5 separate regions of the Homo sapiens genome follow, and all the other regions are linked to region 3. The links are contacts of gene promoters, found by promoter capture Hi-C in blood cells and fetal thymus (Javierre and others, 2016). All regions are on one chromosome and are shown on one strand. The core of a region is centred on a gene start or on the middle of the fragment in contact, and the rest is flanking DNA. Distances in the headings are between cores, read along the strand shown. Region 1 has its middle 110 kb from the start of PTGER4. Region 2 holds the start of C7 (complement C7). Region 3 holds the start of DAB2 (DAB adaptor protein 2). Region 4 overlaps CARD6 (caspase recruitment domain family member 6). Region 5 overlaps TTC33 (tetratricopeptide repeat domain 33).

What was found. The method cuts DNA at HindIII sites, captures the fragments that hold promoters and counts their contacts. A CHiCAGO score of 5 or more calls a contact.
Region 1: a contact is called between a fragment that was not itself captured here and the fragment with the promoter of DAB2 in region 3, in 1 of 17 cell types (M1 macrophages). The highest score is 5.8, in M1 macrophages.
Region 2: a contact is called between the fragment with the promoter of C7 here and the fragment with the promoter of DAB2 in region 3, in 1 of 17 cell types (total B cells). The highest score is 5.9, in total B cells.
Region 4: a fragment that was not itself captured here is called in contact with the fragment with the promoter of DAB2 in region 3 in 1 of 17 cell types (M0 macrophages); the score reaches 5.5 in M0 macrophages.
Region 5: a fragment that was not itself captured here is called in contact with the fragment with the promoter of DAB2 in region 3 in 2 of 17 cell types (M1 macrophages and megakaryocytes); the score reaches 6.8 in M1 macrophages.

What each region holds. Positions count from the first base shown.
Region 1 is chr5:40,571,635-40,574,334 of GRCh38, forward strand. No RefSeq gene overlaps it. Among named protein-coding and RNA genes, the nearest start is that of PTGER4, 110 kb to the right of the region's middle. The HindIII fragment of the contact is 1,286 bases long and covers 785-2,070 here.
Region 2 is chr5:40,908,133-40,910,832 of GRCh38, forward strand. C7 (complement C7) reads left to right here and starts at 1,365. Exons shown (of 18, transcript NM_000587.4): 1 at 1,365-1,484. The coding sequence starts at 1,479. The HindIII fragment of the contact is 6,323 bases long and covers 1-2,700 here.
Region 3 is chr5:39,423,648-39,426,347 of GRCh38, forward strand. It overlaps DAB2 (DAB adaptor protein 2), which reads right to left and starts at 1,333. Exons shown (of 15, transcript NM_001343.4): 1 at 1,157-1,333. The HindIII fragment of the contact is 7,828 bases long and covers 195-2,700 here.
Region 4 is chr5:40,842,063-40,844,762 of GRCh38, forward strand. CARD6 (caspase recruitment domain family member 6) reads left to right here. Exons shown (of 3, transcript NM_032587.4): 2 at 1,090-1,647. Among named protein-coding and RNA genes, the nearest start is that of CARD6, 2.0 kb to the left of the region's middle. The HindIII fragment of the contact is 687 bases long and covers 1,012-1,698 here.
Region 5 is chr5:40,734,295-40,736,994 of GRCh38, forward strand. The region is part of intron 2 of TTC33 (tetratricopeptide repeat domain 33); the gene reads right to left. It also overlaps a transcript of PTGER4 not described here. Among named protein-coding and RNA genes, the nearest start is that of TTC33, 20 kb to the right of the region's middle. The HindIII fragment of the contact is 470 bases long and covers 1,215-1,684 here.

The DNA of each region.
Region 1 (2,700 bases), core at 178-2,677, 1.1 Mb after region 3:
GACATTCTCACATACTCAATAGTTCGGTGGTTCTCAAAGTGTGGTCCCAAGGCTAGATGTGTCAGCATCACCTGAGAACTTGTTGGAAACAGAAATGGTCTGACCATATCCCAGAACTACTGAATCAGAAACTCTTAGGATGGGGCCCAGCACTCTGTTGTAACAAGCCCCCAGGTAATTCTAATGCGCTCTAAAGTTGGAGAACCATTATACTAGATAAATCAAAGCAAACTCGAGGGGAATGAAAGCCCATATGTCCAAGCAGTTAAGAGCAGGCCTGAGGGCAATGATTCTAGTGTGGTAATGTTTCATGTAAATGCACCAAAATGGGAAGTAATCTTTTGTCAGATATGACCTAATTTATATTTCAGAAAATATGGTTCTCTGTTTTTGAAGGCCTATGGACCCCTGTGTTTCCTAAGATCTACCATACAAATGACTGATATTCCTGAAGTAAAAGCTTTGTAATTTAACCTGGAGTCAAGAGTCTTGGATGGAGATCAACACAGATCTTCAGAAGGCACAAGAAGGTCCCATAGGACACACTACAGAATCTAGCGATGGGACTCACAGGGACTGTACCATTTACATTTTCCCTAGGGCTACATAGTCCCTGATTTTCAGTGTCTGCTTCTTTCTTTATGGCTTCCCCCATAGAAGGGTTTTCTACTTCCACTTATCATAGTTTGCCACATGACCCTTCTTGGCCTCAACTCTATAAGATATTAGAGTTCCCATATCTGGAAGTGTGTCTAGCATCATACTCTAAGTGTCTTAGACTTAAAGCTTCTTAGTTTAAATTCTTAAAAGAGAGAATGTGATCGTCCCAATGGTTCATTTAGCTGTGGCCTCCGGTATTAACAAAGCAGAAACAGCAGCAGACCGGAGGCTGAGTATTGACGTTAGAAGAGGTTATGGAACTGGCAAGGAGACAACGTTCAGAAAACCTAACACAGTAGAAATTATCCATTTGGCCCCTGAGAGTTCCATCTAACTTCACGAGTCTCTGGAACAACAGTGTATCCTTTATTTCTGTAAATTCCAAACAAATGGTAGGAAATTCATAGAAAAATGCAACAGCTTGTAAAATATGTTGATTACATATTTTAAAACCTTAATTATACATGCACCCTTCACTCTAGAAATTTAAATCCTAGGGTTTTATCTTAAGAGAAAATTTGGGATGTGCCCAATAAGAAATAAGGAAAAGGAATTCTTGTCACGGTATTGTTTTTCATAGCAAACTTTTTTTACAAAAAGAAATGATCTAAATATCTAGAAATTGGGATTTTTATCAATGGAAGTCATTTTTACTTTTTTTGTTTTTACAAAAAAAATTCATCATTCATCTTTGGTAAACTTTTTTCTCTTCATTAAAAAAAAGTCAGTAAGCCTTAACATTGTTTTAATACTGGCATAAGGAAATTGCAAGCAGATGGCCTCCCACGTTCTGTTTTTCTTGTCTGGGTTACAGTCACTATGATGATCTAGCTGCAGCTGCTGGATGATCTCTTCCAGCTGCAGATTTGATTTGCTCCTACTAGTCCCTAATTGAATTTAGTCGCTTCCCTTCTCTCCTCCACATCAGCAGAGGCCTCCCAATCTTAAAGTCCCAGTCTGCCTCTGTCCCTGTGTCCAAGGGCAGAAAAGTCCATATTTTGGGCTCTGAAGTTCAACTAGATTAAATTTCAGTCATTCCAGTCAATAATCTAAAATAGTTTTTATAATTAATGGCTAACTAGTTCTAGTCTTTGACTTGCTAGGAATTACTTGAGTCTCCATGTCTTCCTATCATCTTAACAGACAAGAGCAGAATGAGTTGGAATGCTAAAAAAAAAAATGAAATTTATCTTTTCTTTAAATACAAGAAAGATCTTGTGTCCAAGAAAGATTACAAAATTACGGTATTAGAGTATAAATAGCTAGAATTAATAGAGTGATTTTCCCTAACCCAGAATCTTTTCCTCTTTGTCAGAATGTTGGATGAAAGGACACAGAGTTGAGAGAATGTGATAATTCTTAACCCATTGCTAAGGGTGTAACCATGAAATTTCTTTACTGTAAAGTTAAAGCTTCGGGTTATTACAAACCCAAAGGAGTTTGTTAAGACCTGGCAACAAAATCAATAAAGGTGAAAGCAATTTACATCACCCTGGATGATCGCAATTTTTTTAATAGTCCCAAAGTCACCATATTTGCCATTAGTCTATATCTGTAACATGGACATCTGAGGACAATGTGACTCATATGGCTGAGGATCTCCAAAATACAATAAAATCTAAACTCACTCCTAAGAAGAGTAGGAGGAGCATGAAAAGTACTGTGTGTCTCGTTAGTATGGCAAATGAAAGTATACAATTTTTGTGACTACTTAGCTCACCATGTCATCGACCCCAGACACACACTGCCCCTGAGTGTCTTCCTCTGTAAAATAACGACACCTCGGCATGGCTAATAAATAAAAGTTTGGAGCCATCCTGGTTGAAGAGGGCAGGATAGAAACAGTATTCTGGTATTCAGTCTCCCCTTTGGTTTCCTCCATTTCTTCCTTGTACCCAAAATGGCCACCTTGGCAGAACCCAAAGGTTCTACAGCACACAGAGTGACCACCAACAAGCCATGCAGTTTCTAAGGCCCCTCCCTCCTATAACAGCCTTCACTTCTATATGCCTGGGAGGTGTTTATAAAAATTGACACTGC
Region 2 (2,700 bases), core at 115-2,614, 1.5 Mb after region 3:
TTTGTCTCTGGAAACCACCATTAATTTATGAGGGGAGGATAGGGGTTGTCTTTATTATTCCAGTGCTTTGGATATAGGAAGAAAAAGTCATTAAAGCTAGAAAATCTTCACTAATGGAATGTTTACTTATAAAATTATTCTTAACTCAAATTTTCTTTCCCGCTTAACATTTATTCTACCTCACTCATAATGCACTAGCAGCTAGTGTTAGAATATTTGGTCCAACAATACAAATAAAACTGTAGCTCAATTTTTTTTTTTTTTTTTTTTTTGAGATGGAATCTCACTCTGTCTCCCAGGCTGGAGTGCAGTGGTGCGATCTCAGCTCACTGCAACCTCCGCCTCCTGGGTTCAAGTGATTCTTCTCTCTCAGCCTCCTGAGTAGCTGGGACTACAAGTGCATGCTACCATGCCTGGCTAATTTTTTTGTGTTTTTAGTAGAGACGGGGTTTCACTGTATTGTCCAGGCTGGTCTCGAACTCCTGACCTCTTGGTCCGCTCGCCTTGGCCTCCCAAAGTGCTGGGATTACAGGCATGAGCCACCGCGCCTGGCCAACTGTAGCTCAGTTTCAATAGGAAATCTAAAATCTTGCAAAATAAGCAGCATTTTATTAAATGTATGAAGGTGATGTTGGGGACTTGCTAGAATCAATGCAAAGCTATGGGAAAATAAAGACCTGGTAGAATAAGACAAGATAAAAAGCAAAGGAGAGAAAATGGATGTGGATAATGACCCTGAGAAGAACTTTCCAACACAGTGATCTGATTATCAAAGGATTAAGTGAAGTTCTTGAGAAAATTAGTGATGTCCTCAAATATGTTTACAAAAATTGATATTCTTTCTGATTATTCTGTGAAAGTTAAGCATGAAGGGATGACTATTGGGTTGTATTAGGCTGTACTTTGGGGAAAAATTCTACTCCAGAACATTCTATTTAGATTTTGAGTGACAGAACTGCATTTAAATATTTTCTTTCATAAAATATTTAATCTCAAAGTCTGGCATATAACACCTTTTAAGAGAATCATGAAAACATCCACTTAGTTTAGTAGATTGAAACAAGAAGGAGGCTCATCCCTTGCCTTACAGAGTCTCCTTTGGTTGAAAATCACTTAAACATTGAACTGAGAACATTTGCTGTGTTTCCTGATTTATAGATATGTTTCTAAGAAACATATCTATAACTTCCAAACAGTCCCAGCTGGCTGTAGCTAAGGCTGTGTAATTGATAAGATGCATCTGGTTTCAAGGCACAGATTAAGTACAAGGTCAGGCTCTTGCTGTCGTTGGAGAATCCGGTTGGGGTAGGAGCTAAATCTCAGGACCACTTGCTCTATATATGAGTGCCAAGATAATCTAGAGCAGGGAGAGGCAGAGAGGCAGGCAGCCTGCTGGGCTCTTCCTGCTGTTGAAAACTTACCCGGCCCTTACAGAGGAAATCTTCCTCCTCTCTTCTGCCCTGAATGTTTTCCCAAACATGAAGGTAAGACAATAAATTCATTACTTTTGTAAATGAAGCTATCTTTTCAAATGAACGGGGGTAATATAAATGTAATTTAAACGAAGAGGTGTAATACCTAACTGAAAGACATCAAATAAATAGAAGGCCAGAGGAAAATACAGAAGAAAAAGACCTGGGGGTGATGTTTAGAAATCCTTATTTAAACATATTTAACAGTTCAGCCAAAGTGAATTCCTTTTTCTTATCTTGTGGTGAAATTATAGGTCCAGAGGTCTGGGAATCAGGAATTGGAGACAATGTTTATGAAAGTCCCGATAAAGTCATAAAGAAATACAATAGTACTATTGTTATTTCTTGGGAAAAACTTTCCTCTGGTGTATTTTTTTTTTTTTTTTTTGCTTGTTTGGATTAGGAGCCATGCAGTAGGGTCCTGCGATTTATCTAAGAGCTAATAGAAAAGCAAATTTGCAGGCTTGGAACTTGAGAATTTGAAATCCTGGATGAAAGAGTCAGCATTGTGAGAATAGAAGATATGAGTAGATGGAATAAAACTAAAGGTCTACCAAGTATACATGTTGGCCCAATGCAAAAAGGCCAAATATTAAAAAACAAAACAAAACACAACCAAAAAGCTATTCAACAAAAGATAAGACCAAAGATAGAAATCGCTATCATAGACTAAATCTCTGGAATGCAAAAATAAGTTGAGATTGCTATTCAAATTTTATTATTGTAAATTTTGGTATTTAAACTTTAAAAATGTTGCATTGTAAGACTGTAGGAATAATTTCACAGATCTGTCAGTGGCTAGATTGCTTCCATAGTCACTGTATTGTCCATTGGGGCACCGAATCCAAGCTCGCTCATTATTGGGGTTAGAGGAGGAGCAAGATATGGATCTTGATTAAGCCATGCCTTCTGTGAAATTAAATAATTAAAATTAAACACAAATAACAAAGTTAATTTGTTTAAAGTTATGATGGGCAGTCATAAAAAAGAATGAAATCATGTCCTTTGCAGCAACATGGAGGCAGATAGAGGTCATTATCCTAAGAAAATTAACGCAGGAACAGACAATCAAATACCCCATGTTCTTAATTTTTAAGTGGGAGCTAAATATTGGGTACTCATGGGCATAAAGATGGCAACACTAGACACTGCACTCCAGCCTGGGCAATAAGGTGAGACTCTCTCTCAAAAAAAAAAAAAACAAAAAAAAAACAAGAAAAGAAAATGA
Region 3 (2,700 bases), core at 83-2,582:
TTGTAGATGCCTGCTTTCCACTCCCATTACTTCTGTTTGCATTAGTTATATCTTACCTCCTTCTCCCCCATGCCCCTGCTTTGCCTGACTAAGGCCAGAAATTTTTTCATGAAGTCACTTTATAGAGCAATAGCAACATTTACTATTCGTGAAGTCGCCCCTCCATAATTTTTAAGTCTTTCCATGTGTCTGGAAGCTTGTTTCTGCTCTTCTCGGTTTACAGAGCGGCTCTCTTCCTTCCAAACAAAAACTAAAAAGAAAGGGGAAAAGGTGGGGGGTGGTTGGGGTGGAGATAACACCCAGATTCCTTAAGTGTTTTTAATCCAGTTGAATTTCCCTTTGGACTCAGCTCCCTGCTGAAACTGTCTGCGGACCAGAATTCCAGGCTCAGAATTAAGTCAAGAGGGAAAGACAGCAGAAACAAATAACAGAGTCAGCTCTATGCTATGAAAACCGCTATGTTGACTGAGGCTCCACGGTTTTAACCCATTCATTTTTCCCCCCTTTTTTAGAATTCTTACTTAATCTTTTTAACCAGCTTACAACAGGCAGGCAAGCACCATATAAACCATGCTCCCTGCGCCGGGGGATATAAAACAAGTTTCTTAAGTCCCTTGGGTAGATACTTCCTTAGGAATGCCGGTGTAAGACAAAAGTTCACATTTTAATGCCATATGTTGTCAGTCACCAGGAAAAAGCTCCTTATGGGCACAAGCCAGGTCCCCAGCCTTTGTCACACAGCAAAAATAAACACCCTTCGAGGAGTTAATTAGGCGGTCAGCAGCCACCTCAGTGTCCTAGGAGGGCTGCCCGCAGACCTTTTACACACACACACACACACACACACACACACACACACACACACACACACACACGACACAAAAGGAGGCGTTTGTTAAATGTCACAAGCTGGGCATCTGGAGTCGGATTCGAAAGGTAAATACATTCCGCGGAAGCATTCCTCAGATGTCAGGCCACAAAACTGCTGGTTTCCCCAAGCACAGGGTCTCATTTCTAAGATTCCCCACAGCCCAAGGTCTGTACTCAAAGAAGGGTAGCGGGGGGCGGGGGGGTGAGAGAGGGGGAGCAAAGGAGAGAAGGAGATCTTTAAAAAAAAAATGGAGCCAGAGGGAAGAAGGGTTTCGAAGCTACTCACCGGCTAGCTATTGCCTCCGTGAAGCGAGCATGACTTCCCCGCGCCCGGAGCCTCCAGGCTACAGCGCAGCGGATGCGGCGGGCCTCGCTTAAATAGCCGCCGGCCGGGAGCTTCGGAGCCGCGCGGCCACTCCCGGCGAGAGATATGGTTCTAATCAGATGCTGGCAGCTGAGGACTCCCCAGGAATGTGCCAGGATGTTTTTGCTGCCTGGGCTTGGTAACTCCCCCTCAACGTGTCTGCAGAGTCTTCCAAACTTAACTGTTTATTAACTCGCGCTGCAGCGGCGCAGAGGACCCCGCTCCCCTGAGCTCCGCGAGCCCCACCAGCTGGGGGCGATCGCAGGGACCCAGCGACGGGAGGGGAAATGTGTTCGGGGAGAAGTCAAAAGCCCCAGACCGACGCGGGCGGGGGGCGGGTGCAAATAAGGACAGGAAAGGGAAGCTCTGGAGGAAAGGGGTGGGATCCACCGAGCTTCGTTTCACAGATCCGTTCCCTGGATTGCCACTGCGAGTGATGTGGCACACGGAGTCATCCTAACCAACCCGTTGGGGCCCTTTGAACAAAGGACTGCCTTTACTCCTGACTTTTCTGACAAGGGACAACGGTTCCTGCGCAGATCTGCAGTTTCTAAAGTTGATCGCGCGATTGGATTTGCTCCCCTTAGAAGAAATTAGTGTCTCCCTCATTGCAGATGCAAATGCGCTTAAGTTAGTGGGAAATCTATGTGTGCATATGTGAAACATACTGTATTTACCTATGAAATATAATCATATATATGGATATAAAAATAATATTCTCTCTGAAATCGATATGAGCAAAACATGTTCACGTCTATGTAGCCTATCAAATAAGTTATAATTCTGATACAATCAGAGATTCTATACAGGCTTCCCTTACAGTGTATATACACCTATATGTAGACACATAACATGACTTTATCTGCATGAATTTCCATAGCACTTCCTATAACTCTAGGAAAAACATGAACTGCAAGAAATAAAATATTTAAAAATGTTAACGTAGAGTGCTGAGCGGTAGAAGGTACTCCGCAGCAAATCCTAATGAGTGTTAACAAGCTGAGAATTCATTTTCTCCATATTTTAAAATCAAGAATTATTGTAAAACATCCACAGAAGCTCTGTTGCTTTTTGGAGAATTCTGAAATTACTCTTGTGAAAGACGTGTCTCTTTTCCCTTTTTTTAAGAAAAAAATTTAATTGTTTAAAGTCAGAGGCAGCACGTAGTAAATGTGAAAATGCTAAATTGTATCTCGGATGGGAGGGGGTTATTGATTTTATCGAGTAAGCAACACAGTGGATTTGCATTTTACCTCTGGAAACTGAGGGTTCAAATAGGGCTCGTGGGACATCAAGGATATATTTTGTGGTCCGTGCCTAGCCTCGACTGCAAAGCCACTGTGTAATTTGGGGTAGCTCAATGTGAGTGGCAATGTCTGCTCTCAAGTAGGTCAGGCTTGAAACAACCGTTGTTCGGGGAGACTGAGGGGTGCAGAGCAGCACAGCTGGCCCAGAATTCTACTTCC
Region 4 (2,700 bases), core at 105-2,604, 1.4 Mb after region 3:
CTTAGTATAGCCGTTTTGAAAATACAAGGAAAATAATTTTTAACACATAGATGGCAAATCAGTAGTTTCATTTTTTTGGTGATAAGAATGCCAGCAGCAGCTGTTTTCTGGAGCAATTCCAGTGCTAATTCTTAAATGGTTCAAAGATAACTAGTAGTCCATGAAAAAGCAATTCTTCCAGTTATTTAGCAATTCTGTAAATTACTACTAGGACTAGGTCTAGCTCTTTTTCTAGGAATCTAAAAAAAAATTCAAAATTATTTTAAGGGATGTTAGAGAGGTAGAGGCTCAGATAAAAAGGTGAATGTTAGTGATACCTAATTTAGGACAAGATTTATATGCTTAGAAATTTTTCTTTTATTATTTCTAAAGCACACTATTCCAAATAGAGCCATTTGCTTACTGATTAGAAATTATTTGTGATCAGATTTCATTAGCAATGACCCCAAGAGACGTGAGTCTGTTGTGAGTCACAGTAAGTCCACAAGTAAACACTGTTCATATGATTCAAATTTTTCGTTTTATTCACTTACCCTGTAAGGTTGCTAGGAAGGACTCAAACTTTAAGCAAGACAGTGGTGTGATCTGATTTTTTTTTTTAGTGGAAAAAAGAAAGTTCTGAAAGTTGACATGTTGACATGCAAGTTATATAGGAGGTGTTAGGTATTCCTGTCCTCCAGTGAAATAAGAGGTGGCTGGGCGCTGTGGCTCACACCTGTAATCCCAGCACTTTGGGAGGCCGGGGCAGATGGATCACCTGAGGTCAGGAGTTTGAGACCAGCCTGACCAACATAGTGAAACACTGTCTCTACTAAAAATACAAAAATTAGCTGGGCATCATGGCGCATGCCTGTAATCCCAGCTACTTGGGAGACTGAGGCAGGGGAATCACCTGAACCCGGGAGGTTGAGGTTGCAGTGAGCCCAGATCGTGCCATTGCACTCCAGCCTCGGCAACAAGAGTGAAACTCTGTCTCAAAAAATAAATAAATAAATAAAAGGAGAGGGATGAAGCTTTGAGGCCTCAGGAACTCTAGCTGTTATACAGCTTCTTTTTCTTAATTGGGAAAAACAATTCTTTTCTTTGCAGAAGTTTTAAAACATGAGAATACAGTACCTCCTCAATCTATGGGGGCAAGCAGTAATTCAGAAGATGCTTTTTCTCCTGGAATAAAACAGCCTGAAGCCCCTGAGATCACAGTGTTCTTCAGTGAGAAGGAACACTTGGATTTGGAAACCTCTGAGTTTTTCAGGGACAAGAAAACTAGTTATAGGGAAACAGCTTTGTCTGCCAGGAAGAATGAGAAGGAATATGACACACCAGAAGTCACATTATCATATTCAGTTGAGAAAGTTGGATGTGAAGTTCCAGCAACTATTACATATATAAAAGATGGACAGAGATATGAGGAGCTAGATGATTCTTTATACTTAGGAAAAGAGGAATATCTAGGATCTGTTGACACCCCTGAAGATGCAGAAGCCACTGTGGAAGAGGAGGTTTATGATGACCCAGAGCACGTTGGATATGATGGTGAAGAGGACTTCGAGAATTCAGAAACCACAGAGTTCTCTGGTGAAGAACCAAGTTATGAGGGATCAGAAACCAGCCTTTCATTGGAGGAGGAACAGGAGAAAAGTATAGAAGGTATGGAAATATCTTGTATAGTTAGTTAGGCAACAACTTAATAAGTTAATAAGCTTGCCATGACATAATGGGGATGGGGGATGAAAAAGGGACAGATGTCAGCAGAAAATCAACTACTAAGAAATTCCTCGTGCCTCTCTGACCTGGAATCTCCTCGAGGTAGGTGTTGACTTAAAGGAGCTCCCAGGACCTAGGAAATGATGGACAGCATAAGCAAAAGTAAATATTGATTGTCAGTTTGTAAATTTCTGTAGTTCGTATAAGGAGTTGCCAATCATTAATTTCCCATTATACGTACGAGGAGTTGCTAATCATTAATTTCAGGCTAACCTATTTCTCAGGTTAAACCACTTTAGTTATTTTAGTGCCTTTGTGACCAGAGAGATATGGGGATTATGGGTTTGACTATTTAAGTGAAAACAGTCAGTAAATGGCTAAGATCCCAAAATATTGTTACTTGGCTTGATCCAGTCCACATAATGCCATCTTGATGAGAATTATATTTGTATCTTGAATCTGAATATTTCTTTATTTAAAAAAAATTTGTTTTTAAACAGGGTCTCACTCAGGCTGGAGTGCAGTGGCACAATCATGACTCACCGCAGCCTCTACCTCCCAGGCTCGGGTGATCCTCCTACCTCAGCCTCCTGAGTAGCTAGCATTACAGGTGCCTGCCACCACGCCTGGCTAATTTTGTATTTTGTAAAGATGGGATTTTGCCATGTTGCTCAGGCTGGTCTCGAACTCCTGGGCTCAAGTGATCTGCCCACCTTGGCCACCCAAAATCCTGGGATTACAGGTGTGAGCCACTGCACCTAGCCAAATCTGAATATTTCTTAATGAAAATTCAAAATATGAGAAGTGTTTCATTGGAGTGATATTGCCTGGGAAAACAGACATCACTAAGTTCTGAGTAGAGGATGAAAATGTAGCTACCATCTCACATTAATTTCAAATCTTGGGGACTCATAATCCACTTATGGGTAGGAAGAGAGTCATTTCTTCCTCATCACACCTTGTATCAGTTTGTGAGGGATGCTGTAACAAAATACC
Region 5 (2,700 bases), core at 200-2,699, 1.3 Mb after region 3:
CTCTTAATTCAACTTCAGTTTGGAACAGACTGAACAGACACAGCCCTACTGCAGCTGTTGGATAGGAAGCATTAAAAGATAAAAACTTGGTTTAAAGTCACTGTGGTTAATAAATGACCAAAGTCTGATTCCGCCAGTTTAAGGACAATCTTAACAGTATGCAACTGAAGTAGCACAAGGAAGGAAGCAAAGGGAATAGTTCCATGGACTACAACAGGGCAGGATGAGATAATGCCCTATACTGAGGTAAAGAACAGCTGGTGATCAAGCTAAATAAGTTAGATAGCACACTCATTTACCAAATAGAAATGTCAATGTGTTTAGCTACTTTACTCCCAATTAGACTTCTAATTTACTGTGGCTTTAAATTTAATGAGCTATATAGTTAACAGCTTATTCACTTTATAAATATTTACTGGGCACCTACCCTGGGACAGGTAGAATTCTAGTAATAAGTACTAAGGATGCAGCACCCAACAAGATATAAAAGGTCCCTACTATTCTTCCAGATCTTACTTTCTAAAGTGTATGCATGTTAGAAGGGGACAGGGAAAGAAAGATAACAAACAGTTAAAATATAAGTGCCGTGATAAAAGACAAATGGAGGAATGTGATAGGGAGTGACCAAGTGGCTATTCGGAATGGGCGGTCAAGAAAGGTCTTCCTAGGAACGCATTCAAGCTGAGACCTGAGTGACAAAACGTGGTCAGACAACTGAAAATCTGGAGAAGGTCCATTCCAGGCAAAGGGAAGAACCTGGGGCAGGACCAAACCATGTTTTGTGGAAAGGAAATAAAACCAGAGGAAAGGAAGTCAGAGGTCAGGGAGGTGGGCCGAAGCCATGATCACAGAGAATACAATAAGCCATAGTTATGCATGTGGATTTAATTGTATGTGTGATGAAGAATCCACAGAGTTTTTATACAACAGTGAGACATGAATTATTGATTTACATTTTTAAAAGATCAGTCAGACCCAGAAGAATAGACAGTAAGGGTACAAAAATGTACACAGGAAGGCTAGATATGAGACAACCAAAGTAATTTAGGTATGAGATAACCCTAGATAAGGATAGAAGTGAAAACAGAAAGAGGAAAAAAGATTTACAACACACTGAAAATGTACAGTTGGCTCAACTTGGACTTGGTATGAGTGAAAAAAAGAAAGAAATCCAGGATAATTTGGGTTACCTGGAAAACAGAGCCTGAGGCCAAAGCTTACTGGCTAAATCTTTATTGAGTGGATAGGATCCCACGCAATCAAGAGTGAGGGAAAAACAGAAGTAAGCCATGAAGAAAGAAGAATAAATACAAGGTCTATGTTAAGCTGGCAACAGCTCCACAAACACAGATGATTGTTGATCTGGAGAGCAAAAGGAAAGGAGCAAGCAAAGATTAAAAAGGAGAGGACATGGAGACAAGGACAAGCATGATAGCATGGTGGTGTGGAAGATGAGAGAGCAGTGTATTTAGGAAGACTGTGGTCACCTGTGCTGAATGATGAGAAGCACAATAAATGACAACAGAGAAGTGATGACTGGATTTGACAACATGGAGGTCACTGATAACCTTTACAAAAGCAGTTTCAGTGGATTCATGGGGACAGAAATATGACTGGATGGTTCATCAAGAAATGGAGTTTGTAGTGCAGTGGGAGCAGAGAAATGGCAGAGCATTTGGAGAGAAGCTTTTTAAATGGATGTTATCAGGGTATGTTTGCATGCCAGCAAGAAGGACCGAGAGAAAAGAAGAAACAGATTATATAAAAATGAGAGGACAATTTCAGAACAACGTTCCTGAGAAGGCACAAGGGGATGGGGTCTAGAGTACAAGTGGAGTGGTGGGCCTTTGATAATTACAATGGAATGATGACAGATCATATAGGCACAAATACAGTAAGGTTGGAAGATGTGCTGGTGAGAAAATAAAGTCATTCTACACTGACTGTATCTATGTTTTTCCACAGAGCATGAGGCAAAACCACTGTCATTAAATATACTGATGTGAGTAATCTGCAGAATGTGGGTCACACAGCAAGATCACCCTCAAATTTACATTAGTAGGTATACTTTCCTAGACAAGAACAAAATGCATGGTAAATTCTAATTTATATTCCTGCTTCATACACATACAACTGATTCTAACAGAAAAATCAGACCAGTTAGCTAGACAGTCAAATATCACCATCTAGTGGCTGAAACTTTAAAAGCCAAGATGTCAAAGTTGGGACTAACACCGTGACTCTTGAGAAGGTATAACCTAGTTTGTAATAATTCTAGAAAAAGCCACTTGAACAAAATAATTTACAAAAATATATATTACTACTACAGGAAATATACCAAGAACATATAAAATCCTAAAATATTATATCTAAAGTACATTCACTTGGTGCTTATTAGGTGCTAGGTAGCATGCTTTTACATGGACTTTGCTCTTTAATCCTCCAAAATTCTATAAGATATGTATCACCATTTGACCTATGAGGTAGAAATTGACAAAAAATAACTACCCAAAGTTTATGCAGATAGAAATGATAAAGTTGGGATTTGAATGGAGGTAATCTGACTTCAAAATCTACACTCTTAACCACTATACTCACTATACCATCTCTATTAAGCACCAAAATTTCTTGGGGGTTGGGTAGAAGAGTAAACCAGATTTTTGTTAAAAAGAATCATGAATACTCTAAGGTAAGACTTCT